Linked DNA regions of Homo sapiens: all the other regions are linked to region 2. The links are contacts of gene promoters, found by promoter capture Hi-C in blood cells and fetal thymus (Javierre and others, 2016). All regions are on one chromosome and are shown on one strand. Each heading gives the region's core, a stretch centred on a gene start or on the middle of the fragment in contact. The rest is flanking DNA. Distances are from core to core; before and after follow the strand shown.

What was found. The method cuts DNA at HindIII sites, captures the fragments that hold promoters and counts their contacts. A CHiCAGO score of 5 or more calls a contact.
Region 1: a fragment that was not itself captured here is called in contact with the fragment with the promoter of CENPU in region 2 in 1 of 17 cell types (monocytes); the score reaches 7.0 in monocytes.
Region 3: a contact is called between a fragment that was not itself captured here and the fragment with the promoter of CENPU in region 2, in 1 of 17 cell types (total CD8 T cells). The highest score is 6.5, in total CD8 T cells.

What each region holds. Positions count from the first base shown.
Region 1 is chr4:184,994,162-184,998,906 of GRCh38, reverse strand. The region is part of intron 1 of LINC02437 (long intergenic non-protein coding RNA 2437); the gene reads right to left. Among named protein-coding and RNA genes, the nearest start is that of LINC02437, 7.2 kb to the right of the region's middle. The HindIII fragment of the contact is 7,688 bases long and covers 1-4,745 here.
Region 2 is chr4:184,730,762-184,735,345 of GRCh38, reverse strand. CENPU (centromere protein U) reads left to right here and starts at 1,250. Exons shown (of 13, transcript NM_024629.4): 1 at 1,250-1,330; 2 at 4,378-4,426. The coding sequence starts at 1,284. RefSeq lists a silencer at 1,244-1,303 and enhancers at 1,674-1,793, 944-1,810. The HindIII fragment of the contact is 4,927 bases long and covers 1-3,824 here.
Region 3 is chr4:184,440,240-184,444,532 of GRCh38, reverse strand. All of the region lies in intron 1 of IRF2 (interferon regulatory factor 2), which reads left to right. Among named protein-coding and RNA genes, the nearest start is that of IRF2, 32 kb to the left of the region's middle. The HindIII fragment of the contact is 2,319 bases long and covers 717-3,035 here.

The DNA of each region.
Region 1 (4,745 bases), core at 706-3,205, 260 kb before region 2:
TTGTGGTTTTAGTAGAGAGGGGGTTTTGCCATGTTGGCCAGGCTGGTCTTGAACTCCTGACCTCCAGTGATCCACCCACCTCGGCCTCCCAAAGTGCTGGGATTACAGGCGTGAGCCACCACACCCAGCCCAAATACTCTTGATATAAAGAAGATATAGATATCAAAAATTGTAAAATTTCTAGAAAACAGCAATTATGAAACCTGTAAAAAATAAGGCAGAGCTCATGGGAGATTTTAGTCTTAAGTATTTAAATCAGTCCAAAAAGGAATAATGGAAAAAAGGTGAATTAGTATCCAACTCAAAAAATTAAGAAAAGAAAAGAGTGCAACAAAATACACCAAGAAAAGAGGGGACACATTAAACACAGATAAAAGCAGATAATACTGAATTAGAAAATGGAAAAAGGTAGTGCCAAATCTAAAAGCTGGTTCTTTAGTACAAAATAAACCACTGGATGACTAGAACTAACTGGATCAGAGGCTTATTAAAATAATGCTAGAATGCATGGCTTTTTACCCAGAAATGTTTGCAGTGATTGCCCAATTAGACCATAAACTTGATTATACAGATGTTAATAGCAAAGGCAGACCCAACTCAGAATACTCATGCAGGAGGGAAAGTATTTTGAAAAAGGAATTCTGAAAAGATAAAATGAAGCAGTTGCACCATAACTGATTTTCAGTTAATTTCTGCCTAACATTGAGATGTGTCCACGGGCAGAATATTTTTCTTTCTGCTTATTATTTTGGCCTGGATGACCTCTCTTAGTTCTTGCTTCTACTTACCAGAACCAGATATAAGTAGCAAGTACAGCCTCCTGCAAGCCATGGCGTACCTCAATTTCAGCACTAAAGTATTAGGTTGGTACAAAAGTAATTGTGGTTTTTGCCATTGGGGATTATAAATCATTCTACTATAAAGACACATGCATACATATGTTTATTGCAGCACTGTTCACAATAGCAAAAACTTGGAACCAACCCAAATGCCCATCAATGAGAGACTGGATAAAGAAAATGTGGCACATATACACCATGGAATACTATGCAGCCATAAAAAAGGATGAGTTCATGTCCTTTGCAGGGACATGGATGAAGCTAGAAACCATCATTCTCAGCAAACTAACACAGGAAGAGAAAACCAAACACTGCATGTTCTCACTCATAAGTGGGAGTTGAACAATGAGAACACATGGACTCAGGGAGGGGAACATCACACACTGGGGCCTGTCAAGAGGTGGGAGGCTGGGGGAGGGAGAGCATTAGGATAAATACCAAATGTAGATGACTGGTTGATGGGTGCAGCAAACCACCATGGCACGTGTGTACCTATGTAACAAACCTGCACCTTCTGCATATGTATCCTAGAACTTAAAGTATAATAATAATGTAAAAAAACACAATTGCTTTTGCACCAAACTAATACTTTTTTTGATAAATTTCTAGCTAGCAACCTGAGGCCAGTTAATTTTGGCCTCTCATCCCCACGGTCTCCAGCCCCTTGACTGCTGTTCCCTCTCTCCTTTCTGCCTGTGCTTCCTCTCCCCAGCTCGACATGGCTCTGTTGAGGTCACCTTGCTGCATCTCGCCTCTTTCCCTCCATGGCTTGGATCTATCATCCCTTGGAAGTACTCCACCTGTGGGAGTCCATATGCCTCTCTGCCATAATCCAGTCTCTCCCAGACCTTCCAGCTCTCTCATTAAATATTCAACAAAAAATTAATGAGCACCCGGTGTGTAGGAGGGACTGTGCAAGGGACTGCGATACAGCGATGAACCACACAGGCATGGTCCCTTCTCACAAAGACCTGCACCTGGGGCAGAGCACAGTGATCCAATGATGACTTAACTAAAGGCTTAGTTACAACCAAGGCAAATGCTGTGAAGAAAGCACCACTTCACATCCCATCTCCCCCACATCCTCCAAGTCTGATGAACCACTTCCTATGTTCACTTTTGTCCTTTCTAGCCCAGACCCCACAGAACAGCAATTCCAACACTCTCTTACCAGCTCCCTCCACTCCATTGCCCTCTGTTCTTTGGCAAACCACCAAGCATGGAGTAAATTAATTTATTATTATGTATTTTGAGATAGGATCTCACTATGTTGCCCAGGCTGGATTTGAACTCCTGGGTTCAAGCAGTCCTCCTGCCTTGGCCTCCTAAGTAGCTGGGACTGCAGGTGTGAGCCACCTTACTCAGCAACATGGAGTAAATTCAGATTTACATCTTCCTTCTTTATACCAGGAACCTGAATGATGCTGATGAACCATACTTCAGCGTGAATGGGAGCCCCAGTGCTTTGACTCCAACTGCACTGCCCACTCCTTTTTTTTTTTTTTTTTTTTTTGAGACAGAGTCTCACTCTGTTGCCCAGGCTAGAGTGCTGTGGTGTGATCTCCACTCACTGCAGCCTCTGCCTCTCAGGTTCAAGCAATTCTCCTGCTACAACCTCTCGAGTAGCTGGGATTACAGATACATGTCACCACACCCAGCTAATTTTTGTATTTTTAGTAGAGACGGGGTTTCACCATATTGGTCAGGCTGGTCTCGAACTCCCAACCTCAGGTGATCCACCCACCTCAGCCTCCCAAAGTGCTGGGATTATAGGTGTGAGCCACTGCGCCCGGCCTGCACTGCCCACTTCTTAGCAATGTTCACATACACACTCTTCATCTCCACAGCGGCCGCTCCACACTGCTCCGTACTGTCTCCAGATGATCTCACCCTCTTTTCACAAGGTGCCTTTGTGACTTACTTCACAAAGAAAATAATCACCGCCGTCAGGAACTCTCCTCTCTTGCTCCACCCACTCACCTGTCTATGTTATATTCCTTCTCACCTTCTTCCATCGCTCTGATAAGGGCCCCTTCCGTCTCTAAGGTGAATTTCTCCTCCCACTGCCTCCTGCCCTGCCCCTGTGCTCTGGGTCCCATTTAGTTTCTGCTCCTAAGAATTGGTTCCGTTAGTCACGCGTCTTTTTCCATGTCATCTTCTCTATCCCTCATTGGTCCCTTCCCCTTAGCAGACAAACACACTCAACGTTTTCACGTCCTGAAACAGACAACAATAAAATTCCCTCTCTTGCCTCTGGTTTTCTTTCTAGCGCTCTATTTCCCTCTGATTGCTTAGCCAAGCCCCTGGCAAGAATGAGCTCCATGGATTCTGAATGTTCCCAACACAATGATAAGTGTTCGAGGTGATGGATCTGCTAATTATGCTATTTGATCATTGCACATATATACATGTATCAAACTGTCACACTGTACCCCATAAATATGTATAATTATTATGTGTCAATTAAAAGTAATATTAAAAGGAAAAAAAGGCCGGGCGTGGTGGCACACGCCTGTAATCCCAGCACTTTGGGAGGCCGAGATGGGTGGATCACGAGGTCAGGAGTTCGAGACCAGACTGGCCAACATGGTGAAACCACGTCTCTACTAAAAATACAAAAATTAGCCAGGCATGGTGGCGCGCGCCTGTAGTTTCACCTACTCAGGAGTCTGAGGCAGGAGAATCACTTGAACCTGGGAGGTGGAGGTTGCAGTGAGCCGAGATTGTGCCACTGCACTCCAACCTGGCAACACAGCAGGACTCTGTCTTAAAAAAAAAAAAGAAGGGTTCCATTCTCTGTCTCCACTCACTGTGTCCACCTCTCTTCTGCTTACAACCCCTGCTGAAATCCTCGGTTTCCATTTTCACCAAACCAGTAGAAGTGTCCCGTACGTCTTTGTGGTCAAATGCAGTGGCCCTCTGAGTTCTTTTGGCACTTGGTACAGGTGAGCCCCTCCTTGCTGGAACTCCTTACTCTCTTGGTTTTCATGACACCACTTCCCTGGTCTTTACGGTATTTCTGGCCTCTTCTCAACCTCTTTTGTGAATTTTTGGTTTTGCCTCTGTCGTCTTTTAAAGCTGTATCCCCAGGATTCCGGCCTTGCTATCAAGGTTCTTTGTCTACTCTTTCTACTCAGCTTGAATGATTTTGCTCACAACCAGGTTTTCAGCCGTCATCCCCCTGCTCTTTGTGCCAAGTTCTCTCGCCCATTCTTTCTCTGGAGAGCTTCCTCCTGACCTCCAGACACACTCCCCCACTTGGCTATGCCCTTGGCAGATCTGTCATGCTCCGCATTTCGGGCCTGCATCCGTCTTCTTCCTCTCCACACCTCAGGACACGCCAGGATTTCTGTCCTGCGCTTCACGTCTCAGTGGATTGCAGCACTGCGGACGACTGCCCAGAGAGAAAAGCGTTATCACGGGGGCCTTCTGCCCCCCACTTTCCAACACTGCTGACACTTTCTCTGAAATATATTCACCCCTGCCCTCTAAGCAGCACCTCTTCCCACTCCAGTCATGCTGCCAAAACCTAGGTTCAGATGCAGAGAGGCCGTGGGCCAATTTCCAGCCTCCTGCTTCCATCCTCTCCCCATCTATGCTGGCCTTCAAAAAAATCCGAACAGAACTTTGCGTCCCACAGATCGGATCATGCTTTCTTCAGCAGAACTTGTCCTGAGCTCCCCGTGGGCTGTAGAACAAAGCCTAGTATCTTTCCCCTCGGGCCACGGCCCTTCATTGAGGTCCCCACTGTGGTGTCTTCAATCCTGCAATCTATGCTCCCACAGCACGGACTTGCTTGCGACACTCTCTACTGAGGGCACCCCTCTTCCGTTTGTCCTTCTAGCAGATGCTTCCTCTTCCAAAGGACGTGGCTCCAATGTGCCTTCGGGGAGGCACCTCAGAGAT
Region 2 (4,584 bases), core at 1-2,500:
AGCAAAACTCCAACTCAAAAAAAAAAAAAAAAAAAAAAAAAGAACTTACTCATGTAACCAAATAGCACCTGCACCCCAATAATTTATGGAAAAATAAAATAAATAAAAAATAAAAGCAATAGCTTTAGTAAGAAAGGGCACTTGCAGCATACCTACCAAATATCATATAAAGTTTAGAAACATACAATAATCAATACATTATTTGGGGCTATATCAAGGTAGAAAACCACAGGAATGATACACATAAAATCAGAAGAGTGGTTATTCTTTGGAGGAGGAGGATACCATTCAGAGGGGTACCCAAGAGTTATATATAAAAATGATCCATATCCCCATGTAGTGCTGGTTACACGGATGTTTGTTTTTATCTTTACATTACACGTTATATTCTTTCATATGCATGAAACGTAATATTTTTGTCGTAGTAAAATATACATAACAAAATTTAGCATTTTAACCGTTTTTAACTTTACAGTATTGTGGCATTAAGTACCTTCACCTTGTGCATCCATCCACCACTATTTCCAGAACGTTTTCATCATCCCAAACTGCTTTTGGTATCATATCCAAGAAATCATACCAAGTCCAATGTTATGAAGTTTTTGCTCTGTTTTCTTCTAAGAGTTTTAATTTTAGCCTTTATAGTTAGGTCTTTGATTCATTTTGCGTTAATTTTTATACGCGGTGTAAGGTAAGGGTTCAATTACATTCTTCTGCATTACACATTTTTAAACACAAACAAAATAAAAGAACAAAAGGAACCCTGTCCATTTACAAATGAAGGTATTGGGATAGCGGTAAAGTAACATGCTAAGCTCAGACAGCTGATAAAGGCAGCAGGGGCTGGAAGCCAAATCCTGTAGGCCTGGAAAGACGACTGCGGCCTCAGCGACAACAGCTGCGAACACGGGTCTCCACCCACCCTCTTACCTGCCCACGACTCAGGGACACTAGCTCCTCCCCTTTCCCCACCCCACAAGGGGCCGTCCCACGTGGCTCCCGGGCTTTCTGGCGCCGGAAAACTGGCGATGCGGGTGGGCGCGAAAGCCCGGAAAACTTTGGCATGTTTTGGACCGTAGGTAACTGGTTGTGCGGCATGGACTCCAGCTCCGTTGCGCTGTAATAACCAGACCCAGTTTTCCCTCACGCTCCAGGCCAGGGAGGAGCCCGGGGGCCGCTCAGGAAGTCCTGCGCACGCGCGCGTGCTCGGCCCGGATTGGCTGTTCGGAGCGGCGAGGGGCTTGGCGGGAGCTTCCAGTCGCTCGAGAGCGGAGAGCGGCACCATGGCCCCGCGGGGGCGGCGGCGGCCGCGGCCTCACAGGTCTGAGGGGTAAGTACTGCCGACCCTCGGGAGCGCGGGGCCGGAGACCAGCTTGAACTGCTTCCTCGCCTGCCGTGGTTTGCGCCTCCCGGCGCTGTTGGTGCTCCACTGTGGAGGTCGCCCGAGTGGCCAATCGCCCGGGTCCCCGGCTTCCTCCTCAGTCTAGTGGGGATAACAGTGATCCCACCTGCACGGGCCTGTCGGGGCCTAACACTGCCTGGCGGGTGGGAGAGACGTCAGCCAGTGTCGTGTCGTTTTGTGGGGAGGGGGAGTGCCGTCCAAAGTAGTGAGTCTCAAAGTGCTAGCTTGAAAGCAAAATATTCAGCAAATACGTATTGCCTGCGGTTTGCCAGACTTTGTTAGTGGAGTTTTATTCTCTGACTGGGAATCAGTTTTCTTATTTTGAAGACCCTGGTGTTTTCTTACTGCAAACCACAGACCGTAAACTGGAGCATAAATCCGGCTGGGGGACCGAGCTGCCGCTTGCGGTTCTCCAGGATGGCTCGAGCGGTTTTTGTTTACCAAAGAAAGCGAGCGTTTGGTCGGTTGCAAAACGCGCTCTAGAATGCTGGTCGCTGATTCGTTGGCGAATGGCCATCCAAGGCCCGGCCTGGATCTGGCGGGAAGGGTCTCGGCTTGCTGCAGACGGTGCACAAAGCCATACGCCAAGACGATCTGAAGAGAACAGGAGTTCCCCCGGGCCTGGGAAGGCTGCCTGGAGGAGGAGGTGCTGGTAGATGCGGGGTTAGGGTGGAAAAGCTGGAGCAGGACACCGCAGGTGGGTGGGGAAACCGAGACCAGACTTCTGTGGCCAGTGGAGGAGAATGAAGACTCCCCCAGTGCAAAAAAGGATTAGAAGAGAATGTCAGCCTTCAATGTCAGCTGAAAAGAGTTTATCTGAAAGGCTAGTGGTTTTTGTTGTCTTTTTTTATTTTTATCTTTTAACATTTTTGGGTTTGAGACTCATGAAATCTGTTCATGCCTCCTCCCAAAACACACTTACGCACATACAACAGAATTTTTTTTTTTTTTTTTTTTTGAGACGGAGTCTCACTCTGTGGCCCAGGCTGGAGTGCAGTGGCGCAATCTCCGCCTCCCAGGTTCAAGCGATTTTCCTGCCTCAGACTCCAGAGGAGCTGGGATTACAGGCGCTCGCCCCCACGTCCAGCTAATTTTTGTATTTTTAGTAAAGACGGGGTTTCACCATGTTGGCCAGGATGGTCTTGATTTCCTCACCTCGTGATCCGCCCTCCTGGGGTTCCCAAAGCGCTGAGATTACAGGCATGAGCCACCGCGCCTGGCCCAGAAATTTTACCTGTGGGTTGTCACAGAGGTTTCTGTCTCTCAGAAGCCCCACCTTGACTCCAGCGTAAGGCAAGGAGGAACCTTGACTTTTTTTCCCCCCCAAGAAAGGACAAGACAGCTCAAAGAGTTTAGGTTAAGAAGTTTATGTGGTCTAGTGTGTAGCTGGGTTTCTGTTACCTGGCTATGTGACCCTTGATAAGTCACTTAAATTTTCTGAATCCCGGAATCATCATCTATAAAATTGCCATAAAACCAATACTTGTCTTACCTGCTTCCTTAGGTTTCATGAATTAAATAAATAAATCGTGAACTTGTTAGAAATGCAGAATCCCAGACCTCACCCCAGAGGGACTGAATCAGACACTCCTGGGGTGGTGCCAAGCAACCTGTTCAACAAGCCCTCTTGAGAATTTTGATGACACTCAAGTCTGGGAACCACCGCTCTGAACAGTTTTCTAACTTTTTTTTTTTAACTGTGATTCACAGTAATGATGTTTTACATCACACTTAGTACACGTGTGCACACATCCACACATAAAACAAAAGGCTTGTGAACATAGTATATCCAGTGCAATGCTTCATTTTATATTTTCCTTTTTTATTGTTTGTTTTTTTAAAAATGCTGGCCTGGCAATCTTAAAAGACATTATAGGACAATTGATGTGATTTGGGTATGGACTGTAGATTAGATTATGGTATCAGTGTTAAATTTCTTGATTTTAGAAATTGTACCATGAATATGCAGTATAATGCCCTCTTAGGAAAGACATATTGTAGTATTTAGGGGTGGAAGTGCACAGTATCTCCAGACACACACACACACACACACACACACAGAGCACATGAGTAAAGGGCATACAGAAGGTCCTTGTGCTATGTTTGCAACTTTTCTGTGAGCTTGAAATTATATCAGATAAAAGGATACTAAAACATTGGTTTAGACTAAGCTGATTTTGCTGTCTACAAATGAGAAAAATATGGCTGCAATCTGCATGGCATATTTTAAAGTCTAATTATGTACTGTATTCTCCTGGAGTATCCCCCCCGTACCCTTGTACGATGCCTGGTTGGTGGAGGATAGTCTGTACATATTCACTGACTGCTGGCACTATTATTAGTAATAATGATATATAATCCTGCCACTGTTATTTCCCGTTTTTATTCTTGTCACCATTGTTACATTTGTTTTCTTGAAGCTTGTTGAAGATATATATACAACTTTATCATTTGAAGCTGTGGTCCAACTGAGAGAGTGTCAAGGGAGGTCGAGGGCAGGCCCTGGATTTGAACTGATGTAAATTTTAATGCAGGCTTGTCTCCCTCCTGGCTCCGTGTTGCTGTGGGCAAGCACACATCTGTAACATGGGATTCACTTCTACCTTATAGGACTGTTAGAATTAAATGAGAAAAGGACGTAGGAGAGCCAGGCACCGGATGGAGCAGGTGTCGGGGCTTAGCGTTAGCCTACCTCCCCTTTGTTCAGCTGTGCAGAGAAAGTCAATCACTGCTGATTGATTAAGGCCTCAGGGAAAAAGTTAACAGCAGGATTCCAACTTTTCCATGTCCCTGAGGGGGAGAGGTATGTTATTTTATACATTGGTGATAGGATTTGACCTATAAAAAATAAATTTGTGGAATATGGGTTCTTGTTTTTTTTTTTGGTAAAAATGCGCGGAAAGGGTCATAACTATGGTGTTTCCTCAGTTATTTTAACTATTTCCTAACTCTTGTGTTTTTTTGCTGTTTAATAGCGCAAGACGTTCAAAGAACACTTTAGAAAGAACACATTCCATGAAAGATGTAAGTTACCTTTTTGTGTTGTGGTTTTCTCAAAATTGACAGTACAAAATAACATTTTTTGGGTACCTCAGTTTTGTAGACTTCACTTGGCAAGTTCAATGTTTATTGTAGTGAAAAAGTGTGTTCATTTTCCTCACACTTTTTCCGGTATAGTGGAT
Region 3 (4,293 bases), core at 627-3,126, 290 kb after region 2:
GTTAAATATCAACTATTGATGGATCAGGTACTAGGCTAGGCATGTTACACATCTTATTTAATCCTTACCGCAAACCATGCGGAAGTTATCCCATTTTACAGAGGAGAAAACTGAGGCATAGGGTCTTGGGTTCTGTTACCTTCTGCGTTTGGTTCCTGAAGCAGTGCCCTGGGAAGTGGCTATAGTTGCCGGATGGAGACCTGAATGGCTTCTACAGTTGTGGAGATGGTGACCAGCACCAGGGGATTTCTGAATTTTTGGGGCAATGGCTTGTTGATTTCTCATTTAAGGTCTCATTTTTATCACTATACTGTATATGAGATAAGGTTCCTCTCCTCATCTCATATACAGTATAGTGATAAAAAAGCGTCACTAGCCAAGGCTGGCTCCTGCCCACTTGTCATGGATATGGGAGCCGCCGAGGTCTTCCCTGGTCTCTGCCCTGCCCTTAGGGGGCTGTGCTGTCCTGGAGTCATGTGGCTGTCAGACCTCGGGTGTCATCCTGAGTCCTGCATTGCAGCTGCCATCCTACTCCATGATGAATAAGGGTAGGCCTATGAAGGGCCTAATCACTTATTAGGAATTTGCATGTTGCCAAATTAATAAGCTAAGGGTCAGACATGATTGATCACCATTAATACCCAAACCATTTCCTAGGGCTGTCATCTCAGCAGGAGTTGTGGTCATAGATGAGCTTACACTGGCTAGGGAAAGCTTTCTGGGATGGGTGGATTTAAAACTGTCTCCTGGATTTCTCAAAGAACTAAAAATAGAACTGCCATTCAACCCAGCAATTCCATTACTGGGTATATACTGAAAGGAAAAGAAATCATTCTAGCAAAAGATACCTGTACTTTTATGTTTATTGCAACACTATTCACAATAGCAAAGATATGGACTTAACCTAGGTCCTCATCAGCAGTGGACCGGATAAAGAAAATATGGTATATATACACTATGGAATACTATGCAGCCATAAAAACAATGAAATCATTCACAATAAGAAGCATGGAGCTGGAGGTCATTATCTTAAATGAATTAACACAGAATCAGAAAACCAAATACTACCACATGTTCTCACTTATAAGACGGAGCTAAACACTGAGTACACATGGACATGAGGATGGGAACAAGAAACAGTGAGGATTCCAGAAGGGGAGAGAGAGGAAGTAGGGCAAGGGTTGAAAAACTACCTATTGGGTACTATGTTCACTACTTGGACAGCAGGATCATTAGGAGCCCAAACCCCAGTATCATTGCAATATACCCATGTAACAAACCTGCACAGGTACCCCTGAATTTAAAACTGAAAGCAAAAACAAAAACAACCTGTAATCCCAGCACTTTGAGAAGCTGAGGTGGGTGGATCAGCTGAGGTCAGGAGTTTGAGACCAGCCTGGCCAACATGGTGAAACCCCATCTCTACTAAAAATGCAAAAATTCACCGGGCAAGGTGGCACGTGCCTGTAATCCCAGCTACACAGGAGGCTGAGGCAGGAGAATCGCTTGAACCTGGGAGGCGGAGGGTGCAGTGAGCAGAGATCGTGCCATTGCACTCCAGCCTGGGTGACAAGAGTGAGACTCTGTCTCAAACAAAACAAAACAACCCCTCCCACCCCGCTGCCCCCACCACCCCCACCCCCACCCCCACAAAGTTATCTTCTGAAGACCAAGAGAGAAGTACTTGGTATCAAGTGGTAAAAAACAAACAGGGCTGAGAGATTTAAGTAGGTTGGAGAAAGGAGTTTTGGGGCACAGGGTTTTTGTACTTCTTGGAGGTCCTGATACTAAAAATGAGGTCATTTTTAGAGTGGGAAGCAAAACGGCCCCATAACGAAGTGTTTGCTCTTCATATGCACTGAAACGGCAGGAGGTGGAAATTGACAAATATTGAGGATGCTTACTAGTTCACTGGTTTTCAGCACCTTAAATAAATGTTAATGTGAAATTAACATTAAGATAGTGGCGCGTTTGTCTTCTATGGGACTTACTTGTGCTTCTGAAATAGTTCTTCAGGTTAATCGGTTATGGGCTGGGCAGGGCACACTTTCCTCCCCTTCTGCCTTCAAAAGACCCTGGAAGCACCCAGGTGGCCCTGCTTTATGGCAGAAGCAGCAACTAAAATGAAACAACTGATTCATCTGCATCCAGGTGATGCAAAGCCAGGAAAAAGCCCCTCTGGTTCTCTCTTGTTTCCTTAAAGAGAGCATGGAGGTGAAGGGGTGGAGAGAGGGCGAGTATCTTTATTTTGGAGTATGGGAGTGTTTTCCTAGTCCGGACTACAAAAGGAAAGCTCGGGTTGGCCAGGAAACGCAGCATGTTTTGTTGATGCCCACTCGCTGGGAAAGTATTAAATGGGGCAGGAAGTGTGACTTTGGAAGGGGCTGCATAAAGGAGGCTGGGAAACTGCTTCCTGTGCACCCGGGCCAGCTCAGGAGCTGGAACGATGTTTGGCAGGCTGTGGGGATCTTGCTGCCCTGGCTGTGTCCCCTTCCACACAGGCTCCCAGTGCAGATGCCAGGTCAGACGGAGGTGTGGGGCCCTCTCTACCTCTTGATGTGAACCCCAGTTTGGCCTGCCTGTGCGAGCCTCATATCCAAATGCTAAGTCAGGGCCTAAGACTCCAGTTCAAATATGAGTTCTACCACTCAGTAGCTCTGTGACCTTGGGAAGTTACTTAACCTTACGTGCCTCAGTTTCTTCATCTATAAAATGGGGACCACAGTAGTACCCACGTTCTTGGGATGCTGTGAATCAGGTGAGCTTATCCTCTTAACGTGCTTAGAACTTGCCTAACACTGCTAAGCGCTTAATACTCCTTAGCTATTGTTAATACCCTCATGGTGGAGGATATTGACAACATCCTGGTAAGTGGGACACTCCCTGCTGGCCAGCTGGTATCATTTTCAAGGGTTTGCAGGTCTAGATCTGGATGAGGCAGTTACTCACAGAAAAGCTCCCTTGCTTACCAACAGGTTGTGTTCCAAAGGTGATTAAGTTTGCAGAGTGTGCATCAGGCTTTTTAAAACTAAGCTTTTCCCAAAACAAAGCTGTTTCAGTAGCAGGAACATTACAGGGGTGTCACGAGCAGGTATTTTCTTTCCACCAGACACCTGACCACTCACTGTGATTTGGAAAGATTAGAACCGGCCGGGAAACGATGTTTCCATCTTTGATGACAAAGCTTTCCTCATTCATGGTAGCCACATTTCAGGTATTCAGGAGCCACCTTGTTGACTGCCCTGATAAATAACAAGTTAATAGTTGCAAAATGTCTACTGGATAGTGCTGGTCTACATTCATTGGGTGTTTGCTGGGTGCAGAGTACAAGGCCTATTTAGGCCTAAGGAGCGTTGGTCTCAGTGGATTAAAGCACATCACAATGAACCAGTGACTTTAGGACAGTGTAAGATGCGTGCTAACTCACTGTTAGAGGCAGTGAGTTTTATGACTTCAAGGGAAGGGGGCATGTATGTGTCTTGTGTTGGCCAGGCCAAGTATTGTGGAAAAGAGACATTTGAACAATCTTTCAAGGTATGGCGAGACGTTTCCAGGCTAGGCCTTTCTCCTGAGCTCCAGCCTCGCACAGCTAGTAGCCCAGCCATCACCTCTTTTTGGGTATCCCAGAGATCTCCAACCCTGTAGGCCCCAAACCACTCTCAGTATCTCTCCTCAAACATCCCACATCTTCTGTTGCAGAGTGGCACTCCCACCCATCTAGTCTAAGAAAGGGAAAAAGGTCACACCCAAGTGAGTATGAAGAGGGAGGCGAGGTAGACATTCAGAAAGAAGAGCCTCGCAGATCTCTTTTCTCTGTGAAGCTGGAGGCAGGGAGGGATCTGAAATTGCACCTGTGGAAAATGGGAACAGGACCTGGGGAGAAGAAAGCAAAAAAGATCTGCAGAGGCAGAGACTCTGAGAGCTCAGATGAGGCGATCAGCCGCCCATCTGCTGCGAGGTTCTCCAGCCTCTCACAAATGTTTGCAGTGTGAGCAAACAAGACGGAGGCATGAAGGCCCGTTTGTAGTGGGAAAGTGGCCAGGCCACTGTGTGGGAAGGAGAATGGGGCCGGGGAGGCCCCTGGAGCTGGAATCCCATGTTAACGTTGCTGCCCACGTTAATATATAAGCCTACGTAGTCTTGTACTCTCACCCAGCAGACACGCAGTAAGTATAGGCCTCCGCTGTGTGGAATGTGGAAGTGGATTGAAGGGAGGGTGGCCGGGACAGGGACGCTGCAGCAGCTCGGGGCAGAGCGGAGAGCCCCTGAACAGGCTGCCGCGGGAGCATGGAA